Regions from separate parts of the Homo sapiens genome. Here all the other regions are linked to region 4. Evidence: promoter capture Hi-C in 16 types of primary human blood cells and fetal thymus (Javierre and others, 2016). All regions are on one chromosome and are shown on one strand. Each heading gives the region's core, a stretch centred on a gene start or on the middle of the fragment in contact. The rest is flanking DNA. Distances are from core to core; before and after follow the strand shown. Region 1 overlaps ADCY2 (adenylate cyclase 2). Region 2 overlaps ICE1 (interactor of little elongation complex ELL subunit 1). Region 3 has its middle 80 kb from the start of ICE1. Region 4 holds the start of NSUN2 (NOP2/Sun RNA methyltransferase 2).

Region 1 (4,028 bases), core at 939-3,438, 1.1 Mb before region 4:
TATTCTCCCAGGTATGAGTGTGGAGCAGTACACAGAGTTCCACTGAACTGTGGGTGACATCAACTCTGCCTATGCAGATGCTGCGTGGGCATAATTTGCATACGTTATCTGATATGAGAAGCAGGAAGTAAAAGTCCTCCAGGGATTGACATTGTTATCTTCACACTAACGGGCCTGTGGTCCCAAGGCTATGTGTCTTGGAAACAAAACAAGGTGATGATTTCAAGAAATTCAGAAGAAGGAATAACATAAATTATGCCCTTTGATCGATACTACCAAGTTAACCTATTGGCAAACAAAGCTGGTGTGACATCAGTGAAATTCAAATTCAAATAAAGAATATTCCTGAACAGCACAAATAGGCTGCGCTTTCAGTTCTCTACTTCTTTCACATCTTATTTTTGTATTGTTCCTAAAATTATTGTTGCCCTAAGCATTGCTGTATGTTCAATGTTGATACAACAGTTGAATGATCGTCTAAACACAGGAGAGAGGAGTTGAGAAGGTTAAAGAATCAGCCATGGCCTAGCTTCAAACCTCTACTGCTGGGAAACTTGCGCAAATTAATGATCCTCTCTGAAATGGGGTCCCAGTTTCTTCCTCTCTGAAACGGGGATAATAACAGTACCTGCCTCCTCTGTCTTTGCAGAGGTTTAAACGAGTTAGAGAAGGTGCGTGCAACAGGACTTACAAGTGTTAGCTCTTCCTGTTATTTCAATGAAGAAAACACAATGTTTCTTAGAAACATTTTAGTGACCAAAATCCTATTTCCTTTATATCTATGTAAACAACAACAAAATCTCCTCCTCTCTACTCCTTTCCACCATGTTTTTTTTTTTCTTCCTTCCAGCTCCTGATAGGAAAAGATGAACAATGTTTGTGTACAGCGCACATGCCCCCCTGAGGGAGACGCAGGACCAGGTTCCGGGTTCACTTCTTGGGCTGATTTTCCTGCGCCCTCGTCTCATTTCTCTGAGTACCTACCAGGGAGCTTGAGCCACTGCTGCCCTCAGCCGCACAGGCTGCCCAGAGCTGGACTGCTGACTGGCGGCAGGGGGCGCCCTCGGCCCAGCTCTGCAGGACATCTGATCACCGGCAACAGAAGAACCAGATCTGTACTTGACGCTTCTACTTAAGAGCAGGTTTGGATAGGGGTTGGTGATGGCAGGAAATCTGTCATGCAGCAAGATGTCCCTTAATGCTCTGAACATGCAGCATCTTAGAGGGTCAGGTAGCCAGAGAACATCCACCCACGAATGGTTATCATTATTGTTTAATGCATGCTACTTCTAATAATACTAATATCACAAAACACAGTCAGATCTGTGTTCCGTAGAAGAAGGTTTTTTGTTTTGTTTTGTTTTGTTTTTTCTTTTTTTTTTTCCTGAGACGGAGTCTTGCTCTCTCACCACTCAGGCTGGAGTTCAATGGCACGATCTCTGCTCACTGCAACCTCCGCCTCCTAGGTTCAAGCGATTCTCCTGTCTCAGCCTCCTGAGTAGCTGAGTTTTTTTTGTTTGTTTGTTTTGTTTTTTGCCATTACCTTTAAACCGCAACTACTTTTGCACCAACCTATAATACAATATGAAGAGCCGAGCTTCAAATGAAATATTATGCTCATCTAGCTCAGATTCCATTAGATAATGGCATTTGGTTTGATTCTCACAAATTAAGACAGTATTTATATATTCACATCCAGATTGACTACAGTTAGTACCTTTAAGAGAAAATTATTAAAATCAATGCTCTTATATTTGTGAAATTATGATAATTTCTGTACACAGAAATTATCAATAGATATGATAATGAAAATGTTAACAGTAGAACATTTAAAAAGTTTATTACTTCAGGGGAAAATGTACATCTAGCTAAGATTGCATATCACTGTCAATTAGGTAAAATATTAGCTAGTTATTACACAGACAAATTTTTGAAATTACAAAATTAAAACAAGTTACTGTGTTTGAAGATTTAGAAAAATACGTGGTGATAATCTTGTCAAATATGCTAATCTAATAGGAATATGTTATATTCTGCTCATAGGCTAGTAACTTACTAAAACAGACCCGGGCAGATATGCAGGAATTTTTTTCTGTTCGTGTGACATGCCAGGCAAAATGACGAATCGGCAGCACTTGCAGCTACTTACTAGACGCATGGGGGTTTGGCAGACATGGGTTTGGCACAACAGGTTCAGGATGCGCTTGGTTCAATTATTCACCCATGCATTTTCCATGCATACCTCAAAGTTCTCCCTCACAATTGTTTTAAAACTTATGCCAAATGTGTTGTTCCAGAGGTCAGGGAGACAGGCGGTATCTTTCCTTGTCACCAAGCAGTGACAAGGTAAGTAAACCTGTTCTGAAGTGTAAAAATTGGTAGGCATTGCTGCTGGCAAGGACAAGAAAGTAGAAGAGAACAGAGAGGTGACAGTTGCAATGACAGGGATGAAAGAGGAAGTGGAGGATCAAGCTGGTGGGGGGAGCAGAAGAAACCAATGATGGGGATAAGAGGAGAAACAGGACTAAGATTCTAAAATGGAAGGAACCTGATTAAGAAAAATGGAGACCCTTGATTCAGTGTGTAGCTCTGTAGAAAAATTACAACTTGGCTCTTGATATGATCATTGGCTTCAGTTTATCCTGTTTTTGATTAAGTATTAAAGGCTCTGGTGGAAAAATGTTTATCAAAATTCCGACCATCCTAATTAAATGTTATAAATGACAACATCTCAAAAAATATTTTGGCCTTTATTTGGAAGATACTATTCAACTGAAAATGAGAAAATGCCTGCTGTGAGCCCAGTCAGTGGAGTCATTTTCTTTGATCTTTGGTTTAACTCCTGGCATAATTTCAACCACATCTGTTTCCTCCCTTCCTTGATCATCTCACTGAACCCCATGATCGGCTCTTACTTACAGTGAGCTCACCGTGTACCTTCTAGAAATGCACTTGGATGTGAATATCACATTCATCCATTAACAAACAAGGGATTGATACTAAATGCAGTGGGAGATGTAATAAAAGAAGAAATATATAGGAAAATCCTAGCCAGGCACTGTGGCTCACGCCTGTAATCCCAGCACTTTGGGAGGCTGAGATGGGCAGATCATGAGGTCAGGAGTTTGAGACTATCCTGGCCAACATGGTGAAACCCTGTCTCTACTAAAAAGACAAAAATAAGCTGGGTGTGGTGGCGGGTGCCTGTAATCCCAGCTACTAAGGAGGCTGAAGCAGGAAAACTGCTTGAACCCGGGAGGCAGAGGTTGCAGTGAGCTGAGATTGCACTACTGTACTCCAGCCTGAGTGACAGAGCAAGACTGTGTCTCAGAAAAAAAAAAAAAAAAAAAAGGAAAATCCTATCATAGAATTGATGATGGGGACAACGAGCAGTGGGGTGTGGTAGGAAAAACGTGGGATGAATCCCAATGTTCTTAATCCAGTACATGCAGATCTTCCTCAGAAAAACAAAATGTTCATACATGCTCCACCAAAAATATCAGCCAGCTTCTCTTCCTTCCCTCTCTCTTTCCTTTTTTTTTTCTTCCCTTGTTTTGATCCACTTGCAATGGAAACAACTGGTAGTCTCTCAAATTAAGTTAAATCTAAATTTTTCACTCTAAAATTAATTCTTCATAATTTAACTTAATCATTATAAAAGTAGACTTCATTTACAGTTTCATTAGTTTCCATTTTAACAATAAGATGAGACACTTGAAGAGAAGTAGAAGCTCATATTAAGTGAACTTAATAAAATGAAAAAAAAAATCCAGAAAAGTTATAAAGATATCAGAGTGGCTGAGAAGCAAACTTTTATTATTAGAAAAACGAAATCCATCTTAAAAATCTTGCTTGGAAAATATAGTGGTTTCATGTTTCATATAAACATGTACTTTTGTGTATTTGCCTAAAGGAACATCTACTTTGGCATTTTAATTAGCTGAGGACCGTCATTCTGAATGGCAGGAATAAGCCGGAGCAATAATTACTTGTAACATTTAATGTCACAAAGACTGTGATGTGTACTT
Region 2 (4,642 bases), core at 1,714-4,213, 1.2 Mb after region 4:
TCTGACCTGCAGAAACCTGACATGTGACACAGTGTTTTTCTAGCTCTAGGTTCCAGTTAATACAAGGAGGGGCAAATTATTCAGGATTTTATAAGCTCTTTGGGGCAGAAAGGTGGTATTCTACAGATTTACACTCCACTGAATCCAGTGGTAGGCAAATTTCTGTCCCAACTTTGCTACCTTTCCACTGGATGGCCTCAGAGAAGGGCTTAATCTTTCTAGGCTTCAGCTCTGCCAAGAACTGAGCACTGCAGTGAGATCAGTTTCTATTCTCCACCACATTTCTGTGACTCTAGAGCAATTCAAGCATTCCACAAAATGCTCTTTAATAGTTAATCATTAAGGTAGGTTGGAGTAAACCCCGTGTACTAATCCTGTGACCATTTGCTGTTAGCAATGCTCACACCTGAATCCAACATTAGATAACGCAAGTCTCACTGACCTAAAGCTTGTTTTACTGTCCACGGAGTAAAAATCTCAATAGGATGTGCAAATTTTGAATTAAGAATAGACAGTGGCCGGGCATGGTGGCTCACACCTGTAATCCCAGCACTTTGGGAGGCCAAGGCAGGAGGATCACCTGAGGCCGGGAGTTTGAGACCAGCCTGACCAACATGGAGAAACTCTGTCTCTACTAAAAAAAACAACAAAAAATTAGCCGAGCATGGTGGCGCATGCCTGTAATCCCAGCTACTCGGGAGGCTGAGACAGGAGAATCGCTTGAACCTGGGAGGTGGAGGTTGCAGTGAGCTGAGATCACGCCATTGCACTCCAGCTTGGGCAACAAGAGCGAAACTCCGTCTCAAAAAAAACAAAAAAAGAATAAAGACAATTCCTTTATTTTATGAAGATTAGTGTGTGACTTAAGTTATTATTATTAAATCACAGCCTACCAACTTGATTTTTTACTCAATTTTTCAGTCAAGGTCAGATTCAGAAATGGCAAGAAAGTTCACTAACAGTTTCTCCTTAGTAACAATTCAAACTCTCATCCAGATGAGTGTGTGTGTGTGTGTGTGTGTGTGTGTGTGTGTGTTGGGGGGTGGGGGTGTTAATGTCACCTCTGAGAAATCTGCCAGGCCTAAACAGCAGGCTTCACTCACTTTCACCCTTTGCCCTCAGCCCACACTACTGTCCTTGTCACCCAGCAACTGCCTCGCTCTGAGTCCCATCTCCTGCGTATAGTGCCACGGCACGAAAAGGACAGGCAGGACCAGGCTCTGCTGCTCCTCTCCTGTGCTGGTGCACCTGTGCACACGTGGCAGCCCACTAGGCTGTGCTCCAGCCTCCCCACACCCATCTTGCTCATGCACACGACTTCATCAGCAGACCTGAGAAGGGCTTATTCTTCCTGACTTTGCTCCTACTTTGACATTACGCTTTCTAATTATCCATCCTCTGAACTGCTTTTATATGTTTATAAGCATTTTAGTACATGGTATTGTCAATTATATATTATGTTAATTACACATTATTCTTATTCTCTATAACATATAATTGTATTGTATATCAGTCTTAATTGTATAAGTATGCATATATTACTCTAAATAATACATATTATTAAATAGTCATAAATTATTTGGCTCTCAACAGCCAGAATTTTAGATTCAAAGAATAAACTAGACTTGATTTGAACAAAATTACAAGCCATATTTTATCCCTACAATTACACATCCTTCTTTTTAAATAAACTATTAACATATTCTTAATTCACATATTTTAAGGTACATATTTGAAAGTATATAATCTTAAATAGTTTTCTTTAAAAGAGTTTTGTGACATCTAAATGAAAGGTAAAGTACAGTCACAGGTCGCTTAGTCAGGAGACCACATTTTAAGAAATTCATCTTTGAGGAGATTCTGTCCTTGGACAAACATCATCCTAGAGTACACTTGCACAAACATGGATGCAGTAGCCACTACACACCTAGGCTATATGGGGTAGCCTACTGATAGGCTACAAATCTGTACAGCATGTTCCTGTACCGAATACTGGAGGCAACTATAACACTTGAGTAAGCATTTGTGTATCTAAACATAGAAAGGGTACAGGAAAACAAGGTATTATCATCTTCTGAGATCACCTTCTGGTATGTGCTCCACTGCTGATGAAAACATTGTTATGTGGTGAATGACCGTGTATACTATTTTATTTATGGCAATCATTCTTTTCCGAACCCATTATTTCATTAGCATGCCTATAGAGCTTTGCAGACACTACTCTAACACTATCAGAACCTTGGAAGATGGAACCTGAGAATCTATGTTTTTTAAGAAGCTTCTCTGGCAATTTGGATGGCCAGCCAAATTTGGTAATCCCAGAAGATAAACACTAGTTAGAAGAGACACTGGAGAAGACACCAAGATAAATCACAGGTACAGCTGACCCTCCTCTATAAACGCAAAGAGGCTGCTTCCGCTGTCGTATAAGGCTGCTGACCACAAAAAACAGTCTTCACTCTTATTTCCTCTCCAGATTAACCAATACAGAAACACAACCAGTAAAACAAGAACAAAAAAATCACCATATTTTAAAGTGTGACTTAAAAAAATACCATATTGTTTTGAAAATTCCACAGATTATCTAGGATAACATATTTATTTACACCTTAAAACATCTCTTCTAATTTTTTTTAACTCTCAAAAAAGATTTCACAATTTAGAATGAGTCAAAAGCATGAGCATTTTTTCCTGAATTCATAAGAGAAGCTGCTACTGAAATCAGCATTTCCAGATATATAGATGTCACCTAACTATGGGGAATGCCATCACTGACCCTCCTGTGTTCCCTAGCGCTCCACAGCTAGAATGAAAATTGTTCTTGAGGGTATCTTGAACTAAGGAATTCAGCAAAACAGTTTTGAACCTGTACACCACATGGCATAGTTTCATTTCCACTTCTGTGCCTCTGCTTATCTTCTGATGTATCTCTACCAAATTCATAGTCTTTGGCAATCATTTGGTTCTCCTACACTCTTGTTTGGTAACTTATCTCCAAGTGTATTATTGGTTATTTCCAGTGAAATTTGGTGTCTACTTTGTAACCAGGTTTTTGTCTAGAACCATTTTATTTACTTAGGGCAATGTTGCTATATTTGCATGCAAAGTACACACAGAGGAGGAATGCAAATTTGCCGATACAGTAACAAAATTCACAGGGTATTTCCTACTGTGATCTATTTTTAGACTGACTTATATAACCGATTCTCAAACACTAACCTTATTTCAAATGATGCTATCTGTGAGTTTTCATTAAGAAAAATCCGGCTGGGCGCGGTGGCTCCACCTGTAATCCCAGCACTTTGGGAGGCCGAGGTGGGTGGATCACGAGGTCAGGAGATCGAGACCATCCTGGCTAACATGATGAAACCCCGTCTCTACTAAAAATACAAAAATTAGCCGGGCGTGGTGGCGGGCGCCTGTAGTCCCAGCTACTAGGGAAGCTGAGGCAGGAGAATGGCGCAAACCCGGGAGGCGGAGCTTGCAGTGAGCCGAGATGGTGCCACTGCACTCCAGCCTGGGCAACAGAGCCAGACTCCATCTCAAAAAAAAAAAAAAAAAAGAAAAAGAAAAATCCAAAGATACTTAAAAGTCATAATTATCTTCAAAGTATCTAAGGGCTATAATGCAGAAATTGGATGAAGCTTGTTTTATATTCCCCAGGGGCAAAGAATACATGCTGCAGATAGAGAAGTCAGGTCAAAACTAAGAGAGCTTTCTTTTTTCAGTTGTGGAATACACATGCAGAACGTACAGGTTTGTTACATAGGTATACATGTGCCATGATGGTTTGCTGCACCTATCAACCCATCATCTAGGTTTTAAGTCCCACAGGTATTTGTCCTAATGCTCTCCCTCCCCTTACCCCCCATGCCCCGACAGGCCCCAGTGTGTGATGTTCCCCTGTGTCCATGTGTTCTCACTGTTCAACTCCCACTTATGAGTGAGAACATGCAGTGCTTGGGTTTCTGTTCCTGTGTTAGTTTGCTGAGAATGATGGCTTCCAGCTTCATCCATGTCCCTGCAAAGGACATAACTCATTTTTATGGCTGCATAGTATTCCATGGTATATTATGTGCCACATTTTCTTTATCCAGTCTCTCACTGATGGACACTTGGGTTGGTTCCAAGTCTTTGCTATTGTAAATAGTGCTGCAATAAACATATGTGTGCATGAGTCTTTATAGTGGAATGATTTATAATTCTTTGGGTATATACCCACTAGTGTGAGATTGCTGGGTCAAATGGTATTTCTGTTTCTAGATCCTTGAGAATCACCACACTGTCTTCCACAATGCTTGAACTAATTTCCACTCCCACCAGCAGTGTAGAAGCATTCCTATTTCTCCACAGCCTCACCAGCATCTGTTGTTTCCTGACTTTTTAATGATCACCATCCTAACTAGTGTGAGATGGTACCTCATAGTGGTTTTGATTTGCGTTTCTCTAATAACCAGTGAATGATGAGCTTTTTTTCATGTTTGTTGGCCGCATAAATGTCTTCTTTTGAGAAGTGTCTGTTCGTATCCTTTGCCCACTTTTTGATAGGGTTGTTTTTTCTTGTAAATTTGTTTACATTCCTTGTAGATTCTGGATATTGGACCTTTGTCAGATGGATAGATTGCAAAAAATTTCTCCCATT
Region 3 (4,190 bases), core at 1,032-3,531, 1.1 Mb after region 4:
TATCTGGCTCATTTTAAAAATCTGCTCTTTAGTTTTGGTGGTCACCAATTAGCTATGATGTGCTTAGGTACTTTGTATTTCTCCTGATTGGTGTTTTCTCATTGTTTTAGATTTGTGAGTTTATGTCTTTTATCAATTTTAGACTATTCTCAGCAAATATCATATTAAATATTTATTCTTCTTCATTTTCTCTTCTTCTTGGGTCCCAATTATATGTATGTTGGGTCATTTGATATTGTCTCACAAAGAAAGGCATCATAACCTATTCTGGATTTTGTGGGTTTTTTTTTTTTTGGTCTTTTTATGTTTATTTTTTATTTGTCAATTTTTAATTTGTATTTCAGCTTGGATACTTTCTAATAACTTGTCCTGAAGTTCACTGATTATTTCCTCTGCTAAGTCACTCTATTACAAAATCCAATAAGGTACTTATTTCTGATATTATATTTCTCATGTGTAGCACTTCCACTCCATTCTCTTCCACAGCTTCCATATCTCTGGTGATATTCGGCATCTCTTCCTACATGCTGTACACTTTTTCCAAAATATTATTTAGCACACTTTTAGTTAAAGCCCCCATCAAATAATTTCAACATCTGGCCCATCTGTATGTCTAGTTATGAACTGTTCTATTCTTTATTGTAAGATATCAGAACAGCAGAGCTCAAAGTGCACACGATTTCCCTTCTTATGTCAGGCACTGGTTTCATGTCACTCAATAGACGTATTCTGCAGTTAAGCTGTGTCTGAGCTATTTGGCAAGTTAAGCTTGCTTCAGTTTACTACTAGGTTCAAATGTTTTGAAAGTGGGCTCAGGATTTTCCATTCTGCAGTGTGTGGGTTTCTGAGCACTAGCGAAATTCCCCAAAGTTTTTCATGTCACCCAAATCACCAGTTTTTCAAATCATGAGAGATCTCTCTCTGATTTAAAACTCAAATGATGGTTTGTACATTGTTGGAGAATCTTCTTTGCTCTCCAGTCCAGCCCAGGCTTTTGGATCCACATAGAGCTCCTGCTCTGTCTGGAATGCCCTGGAGGAGTTTCTTTCATCTTTTCTGCCCCACCCGTAGCTATTGTCAGTTGAAAGCCTGAGGTTTTTTTGGTTTTGTTTTGTTTTTGTTTTGTTTTGTTTTTGTTTTTGTTTTTTTTACCATTACAATAGACATTTATTTAAAGTAAAATATCTGCAGACCAAATAATTCTTAAAATTGTTTATTTCAAGTTTAACCATCTTCATTAACAGTTGCATCCACAGACTTCAACCATGTGATTACTTCTTTGCCCATTCTTCTCTTTCTTTTCTTTCCCAAATAACATCTTTCAGATACAGTTCAAGGCAGAAATTTTCCTCTTCATAGTTGGTCCACTGCTTTTGTTTTTTAAGAGAGGAGGATTCCCTCAGGTCTCTTGTTTATGCCCGGCTCTTGGGAACTAAAAATGGTGAGTGCCTTGGGTTGATTTATCACAGATCTCACGCTCTGCTTCTCTCCTCCTTCAGTAGGTGTTGCCTTGGTCTGGGAGAAGGTGCCTTGGACTTCAGGGGAATCTCCAGGTCTCTATCTGGTCTCCACCGCAGGCTCTGGTATACTGTATTAGTCAGGATTCTCCAGATGGATGGAACTAACAGGATATATGTACATATAAAAGGGGGAGTGTTTTTTTGTTTTGGTTTGGTTTTTTCTTTTGTTTTTTTTTTTTTTTGTTTGTTTGTTTGTTTTTATAGGGAGAATTGGCTCACACGATCACAAGGCAAAGTCCCACAACAGGCCGTCTGCAAGCTGGGGAAGAGAGAAGCTGGTAGTGGCTCAGTCCAAGTCCTAAAGCCTCAAAACCAGGAAAGCCAACAGTGCAGCCTTCAGTCTGTGCATGAGGGTCTGAGAGTCGTTGCCAAGCCACTAGTGCAAGTCCCAGAGTTCAAAGGCTGAAGAACCTGGAGTCTGATGTCCAAGGGCAGGAGGAGCAGAAGGAAGCATCCAGCACAGGAAAAAGAAGGAAACCAGAACATCCAGCAAGCCAGCCTATCCCACCTTCCTCCTCCTGCTTGGTTCCAGCCATGCTGGCAGCCAATGGGATGGTGCCCACCTACATGGAGGGAGGGTCTTCCTCTCCCAGTCCACTGACTCAAGACACACCCTCACAGACACACCCAGATACAATACTTTACCAGCCATCTAGGCATCCTTCAATCCAGTCAAACTGACACCTAACATTAACCATCACACATACTGTTCCTGAGCATTTGAGGAAAGCCTGTGGGGGAAGCATATTCTATTATTGAGGAGCCTCAGAATTCTAATCTGTCAGCCATATATGCCATTGCACCTTTACTAAAGTTCATCCTAATTCATCTTTATCCCCATCTATGGCAGATTTCTTTTTCTCTTGTGTTTACAAGAAGAATGAGAATCTCTTCCCTTCCCAGAAAAGGAAGAGATTTTATCTTAGGCCATTAGATGCTTCATGAGGACATTGGAATCAGCAGGCAGATTTAGAGAATCTACTCAGGGCTTTTTACAAGTCTGTATTTTCATTGAAGTTAAGGGCACTTAGCCTACCTGTGCCTCAGCTTTAGAAGCAGACATAATGATAATAATATCTGATTTTCAAGCATGTTCTAATGAAGACAGAGATAAAATATATCTGTCTTCTCTGCTATTTTCTAGAATTTAATCATGTATGGGTTCTTTTTTTTTAATCATCAGCTCTCTGATTAGAAAGACTATGATTTTGTTGCTTCTTACATCTTGCTTGGGTTATTTCATTAAAATAATAGTTTCTTGTTATTTTCTACATTCTAAACATAAGAGAAATCTTCCATCCTCTTACTTTCTATTGTCTATCACTGTGTCTTCCTGTGCTGTTTTCTGGGTATTTTCAGACAAATCATACATAAATTATCTCATCATTTGTAACTAATCTGCTTTTATCCTTGTTTCCTGGCTTTATACTTTGAAATATTTATGTTCGTGTGGTCTTGTTGTTAAAAGCTCCATTTTGCTCTTGTTCAAATTTGGTAAATTTTTGTAATCTCTTATTCTTTTGTCATACTTTTGCATTCCTCTCTTATTTCTTAAACATATTAAACACACATATTTTAGACATTCTAAATGTGGTAAATAAAATATACACAAATTTTGTAAGTCTGCCTCTAAGCACAGTTTGTTGTTCCTGGAAATTCTCTCATGATGTTTTATTTGTTCTTTTATTTCTCATCTGCTTAGGATTGTGTGGGTAGGAGTATGAATTCATGATCCTTGGAACTTCATGTGTGGGGATCTTTTAAGGACTGGAATCAAAATAACTTCCCTGTAGTGAAGATTTGCAACTGCCTTTGCAGGTCCTCGATGGTACTTCTAACCTGGGATCACTGAAAACACATTTTGGGGGAATTGAGCCCACTAGCAGTATATATTCCTGTCCCAAATTCATGAGTGCAGGCCTTTGGGTAGAAATTCTTCTGGGAGATATTGCTGTTTGTGTGTGCTTTTTTCTCTGATCCACCCACAGTTAGGTTAACAGTAGGTTAGCATCCCTATCTTCTTCCTCTTTGGGGGCTTTTTTTTTTTTTTGGCTTACCCCCAAGATATCTCCCTATGTGAGACTTGGCTTTTGGGGGTGGGGTTGTCGCTGATATGACATCCCCTAATTTTGGCCCCAGACTTTGTCTCCATTGCCCTTCTATGTGGCCTGTAACCTTCCATCTGCATCCCACCCGAGACTGTCTACATCCCACCCTGTTCAAATCTAGGGCAAATGGTTTCAGTGCTCCTTTCTCCTGGGGAGTTAAGCTTTCTTGTCCTTTCTCACTTTGAAGAGATTCCTTTATTTGCTGCTAGCTCAACTGTGCATTAAAAATATTTTAGTACATGCCTGTAATCCCAGCACTTTGGGAGGCCGAGGTGGGCAGATCACAAGGTCTGGAGTTCGAGACCAGCCTGGCCAATGTGGTGAAACCCCGTCTCTACTGAAAAATACAAAAATTAGCTAGGCATGGTGGCAGGCACCTGTAGTCCCAGCTACTCAGGAGACTGAGGCAGGGGAATCGCTTGAACCCGGGAAGCAGAGATTGCAGTGAGCTGAGATCGCACCACTGCACTCCAGCCTGGGTGACAGAGTGAGACTTCATCTCAAAATATAAAAGTTAAATATATATATATTTTAGTCAGCATCTTAATCATGCTATTAGTCT
Region 4 (4,046 bases), core at 982-3,481:
TAAGCCTCTGATGAATGTTGACTTGCCCTTGTTTAAAGTGCAAGTCATCAAAGCACACTGAGGACACAGACTGCACCAGTTACAGGGTAAGGTGCTGGTTTTCAGGGAACTCAGGTACCAAAAACTGTGCTGGGTACAACACTGGTTCCAAGTAGTGGAGCTGTGTACTTTCTCTTCGCTGGAATGCATGACACCAGGAGAAAGAAGAGAGGCTTATAAACACACACTGAGTTCTTCCTGTCTCTCTGGGAAGTGAGTGTTTTAAGGTGGGACCCCAAATCAGAAAGGTTGGGTAAACTGCCCATAGTCACACAGCCAGTGAGTTCAACTTCCTTGGGTGTAGAGACATCCTTTTTAACTGTGAAGCTTTCCAGAGCCTGAATGAAAACGTTTAAAATTTAATTTTGAACTTTCGACCTGTCGTTTGCTTTGGCTGTGTAAAAGCCAAAAGATACGACCTGGAGAGAACCCCAACTTATTAGAAGGCTTGAAGATTTCAGACACAGCCAGTTTTCAAATATTCAAAAAAACAAAAACCTTGAAAGATTTAGAAGTCATCTTTAAGACTTCGTTTGTTTAAGGTTTAAGGTTGCTGGCTTTCCACCCCCACAATCCTGGGGTCCCTTGCATAAGGTGGACATGAAAGTCTCTGAAAGTGATCAAGCCTATAAGGAGAAACTGCTAGGCAGTTTTAGGACAGCAGGTTTCCAGTTGCAGCTGATCACTTGGCTGGGAGAAAACAGCTCCACCATCACCAAAGATACCAAAAGGGGAACCGGCAGAAAGGAGTAGAAACCAGTGGCCCTCAAGACCGACCATCAGCATTAGACTCTAGGCCAACCCCCTCCCCCCCGCCCCCACAGTCGTGATCTAAGGGAACAAAATCTAGTCTTCATTTTTATTTTACATTTTTACTTTTTAACTCTTTATTTTTATATATTTAATTTTGAGACAGAGTCTCGCTCTGTCACCCAGGCTGGAGGGCAGTGGCGAGATCTCGGCTCACTGTAACCTCCGCCTCTCGGGTTCAAGCGATTCTTCCATCTCAGACTCCCGAGTAACTGGGATCACAGACAGGCGCCACCGCGCCCGGCTAAGGAAACCAAACCTAGGACCACTGAGTGGCTCTTTCCAGATCAGTTTCATCATGTTTTTTTCCATCACTCCCTTCCAGTCCTTTGTTTCCCGCCCTTTCCAGACGAATCCCTTCTGGTTTCCAAACTCCCGGGGCCGGGGGACTCGGGGAAGGGCACCCGTGCAGATGGGGGACGCCCCGGGGGATCTGGCAGGGAGAGGGCATCTGGGTGGGGGAGGCTTCGGGGAGAGGGCACCGGGCAGTGAGGGGAGGGTCGGAGAGGACGCCGGGCCGGGAGTAGGGTAGGGGGCCGGGGGCCGGGGACGTTACCGATGCCCGTAGTGGACGAGGAACATGGCCAGGAGGATGCAGTTGGGCGCGCTGCGGAGACGCGGGGCGGACTCGCTGGCGTACTGGTAGAGCGGCAGGGCCAGCGAGGGCAGCTCCTGCACCACCCAGGCGGCCCGCGCCGGCACTCGGAGCCTGTGGCTGGGCAGCGCGTGGCGGCCGTACACTGAGTTCGTCTGACGATTGCGCGCGAAGACCGCGCAGCCCACGGCGCACTGCAGGTAGGCGAGCGCGGCCAGCAGGCGCTCCTCCGCCACCCCCGTCGCCGTTGCCATCGCCAGGGCTGGGCAGCGTGCTCCATGCCCCAGAGGCCGCGGCGGGCAACATATAGGGCGGCGGCGCGGGGGCAGGAGGGGCGGCTACCGGAGGGGCGGCTACCGGAGTCCCGCACTGCCGGGACTCTGCAGAAAGGGTTCTCAAGTCAGGCTTCTCCGGGGTAGCCGGGGCTGTGGGTGCGGCCCCGGGGGCGGGGCGAGCACTTGCGCGGGGAGGGACCTGCAAGCGCCCCACCCACGCCGGGGCCGCAGTAACCCCGCGCCGCTCTGCGCACGCGCGGCTTCAGGCTGTCCGCGGAGCTCCTTGAGCCCGCGTGGGAAACCTGGGCGCTTCGCGCGGAGACGCCTTTGTGGCTGCTTCCTGGAGCATTTTTTTCCCCTTAGAGCTGTTCGCTGTTTTCCCTGTCACGCCGCTTTTCTGAAAGACGGGTTGTGCGCTTTGGGCTTATTCCTGGACGGTCCCCAAAGGTCCCCGAAAGGACCAGGCCCGGACACGTGGGGCCTTGGTTTCCGGCCGGAAGTCCCGGGAGGTGTAGGGCTAGAGTTCTGGCCGTGGCGGGCCGGTTTCTGCGTGCTGCGTGCGCGGCCGCGTGGGCTATGGGGCGGCGGTCGCGGGGTCGGCGGCTCCAGCAACAGCAGCGGCCGGAGGACGCGGAGGATGGCGCCGAGGGTGGTGGAAAGCGCGGCGAGGCGGTAGGAGCCGGGACCCGGCGGGCGGGCCAGGGGCTCCTCCTGGGCTTCCCGGACCCCGAGGCCTGCGAGGCGGCGGCGAGGGGGCGGCTCCTTGGGCCTCGGGGTAGACGTCTCTTTCCTTCCTCAGGGCTGGGAAGGAGGCTACCCCGAGATCGTCAAGGAGAACAAGCTGTTCGAGCACTACTACCAGGAGCTCAAGATCGTGCCCGAGGGCGAGTGGGGCCAGTTCATGGACGCTCTCAGGGAGCCGCTCCCGGCCACTTTAAGAATTACTGGTTACAAAAGGTAGGGAGGCAGTGCCTGATTTTTTGGGAGTTGGGGCCAGGATGCTGGAGGTTAAAGGCGACGGTGTTTTCTTCGACAAGTGTTACAGTGCCAGAGAACCGTGGCGTTTCAGCGGTTTGGATTCAGGAAGCATTGAGGTGGGGAGCACAGGGTCCAATGAAATGGTCACGGAGGTATTGCAGGCGCAAGGTTAGAAGACGAAATGAAAATGAGATCTGAGGAAGATTCGGCTCCTGGGGAATCTTCCAGGAGGGAAGCTGAGGGTCTTACCTTTTGGAACGTAAGAGAATTTATAGAGAATGCATAAAACCCCTTGGTTCTCCCCTCCTCCGCGCCCCCCCTCCATCTTTGTAGTTACATCTTTCTAAATGAGTCGCAAGTAAAACTTAACGGTAGGATATGCTTAGGAGAGAAGGAATGCAGTGTTGCTCTTAGGGCTCAAACAGTGTGGATTGCTTAAATTTTGAAGGCATACAGTGTAAAAGTAGTGACTAAAGAATGTTTACTCTCCATGCAAAAGTTGGTTTTAGTTTTAAAACACTTGCAGTCTTAAATTTAAGAAGATACAATGTATTAACTTAGTTTTTTAGATCAGTTTGAAACTTCCTTATTTTTCAATAGCCACGCAAAAGAGATTCTCCATTGCTTAAAGAACAAATATTTTAAGGAATTGGAGGACCTGGAGGTGGACGGTCAGAAAGTTGAAGTTCCACAGCCACTGAGTTGGTAGGTACCACAGTGCTTCATGCCGAATATTTATTTGGGATATTAATCTCTATCACTTGAATTATATTTCTTGGTACTGCATTTGCTGTTAAAGAGCTTGGGTATACTTTGCAAACATCCTAATGTTCTAGTACCTGGTGCTTTTATCAACATTATATTGCTACGCAAGTTTTCATGCGATTTGCGATTTGCAGCTTTATGAGTCACTGATTTCAGCCAGCTCTTCCTAGTACATCCAGCCTCTTCCTTTATGTCACCACTTCCGCCAGCTCCCTTTTACAGCCCTTGTTTTCTCACATCAAAACTGTTGCAGAGTGGCTGCTTTGCCTTCAGAAAAAGGACAGACTTAGCTTGACAACAGTCTCCTGGTAGGTAGTCTCTTAGTGTTTTCCATTACAGACAGGTTACCACTGTCTGCTGTCAGGTTGTCTCCTGGTACTTCGCAGTACAGACTGCACCAGCCAATGTAGCATTTCCGAGTCTCAGCACCCAAGCGTGCTACTACTCTGGGAGCTACCTCTTTCTTGACCTGTCCTGGAGGTGCCTTCTGGGTTACCTATTCCTCATGGCTCGGTTCTAGTCTCAGTTGTATGAAGGTGATCCCTTGTGCTGATAGCATCTTGTAAAGATGCTTGGAGAACTCC

What was found. The method cuts DNA at HindIII sites, captures the fragments that hold promoters and counts their contacts. A CHiCAGO score of 5 or more calls a contact.
Region 1: a fragment that was not itself captured here is called in contact with the fragment with the promoter of NSUN2 in region 4 in 1 of 17 cell types (monocytes); the score reaches 7.6 in monocytes.
Region 2: a contact is called between a fragment that was not itself captured here and the fragment with the promoter of NSUN2 in region 4, in 8 of 17 cell types (naive CD8 T cells, total CD4 T cells, naive B cells and 5 more). The highest score is 13.3, in naive CD8 T cells.
Region 3: a contact is called between a fragment that was not itself captured here and the fragment with the promoter of NSUN2 in region 4, in 9 of 17 cell types (naive CD8 T cells, total CD4 T cells, total B cells and 6 more). The highest score is 15.4, in naive CD8 T cells.

The regions. Positions count from the first base shown.
Region 1 is chr5:7,752,218-7,756,245 of GRCh38, reverse strand. The region is part of intron 15 of ADCY2 (adenylate cyclase 2); the gene reads right to left. Among named protein-coding and RNA genes, the nearest start is that of CFAP90, 97 kb to the left of the region's middle. The HindIII fragment of the contact is 4,872 bases long and covers 1-4,028 here.
Region 2 is chr5:5,479,170-5,483,811 of GRCh38, reverse strand. All of the region lies in intron 17 of ICE1 (interactor of little elongation complex ELL subunit 1), which reads right to left. Among named protein-coding and RNA genes, the nearest start is that of ICE1, 59 kb to the right of the region's middle. The HindIII fragment of the contact is 1,366 bases long and covers 2,281-3,646 here.
Region 3 is chr5:5,500,563-5,504,752 of GRCh38, reverse strand. No RefSeq gene overlaps it. Among named protein-coding and RNA genes, the nearest start is that of ICE1, 80 kb to the right of the region's middle. The HindIII fragment of the contact is 3,021 bases long and covers 771-3,791 here.
Region 4 is chr5:6,631,229-6,635,274 of GRCh38, reverse strand. It overlaps NSUN2 (NOP2/Sun RNA methyltransferase 2), which reads left to right and starts at 2,231. Exons shown (of 19, transcript NM_017755.6): 1 at 2,231-2,391; 2 at 2,519-2,676; 3 at 3,298-3,402. The coding sequence starts at 2,296. SRD5A1 (steroid 5 alpha-reductase 1) reads right to left here and starts at 1,835. Exons shown (of 5, transcript NM_001047.4): 1 at 1,406-1,835. The coding sequence starts at 1,698. RefSeq lists enhancers at 1,112-1,623, 1,624-2,135 and a silencer at 1,599-1,988. The HindIII fragment of the contact is 4,632 bases long and covers 369-4,046 here.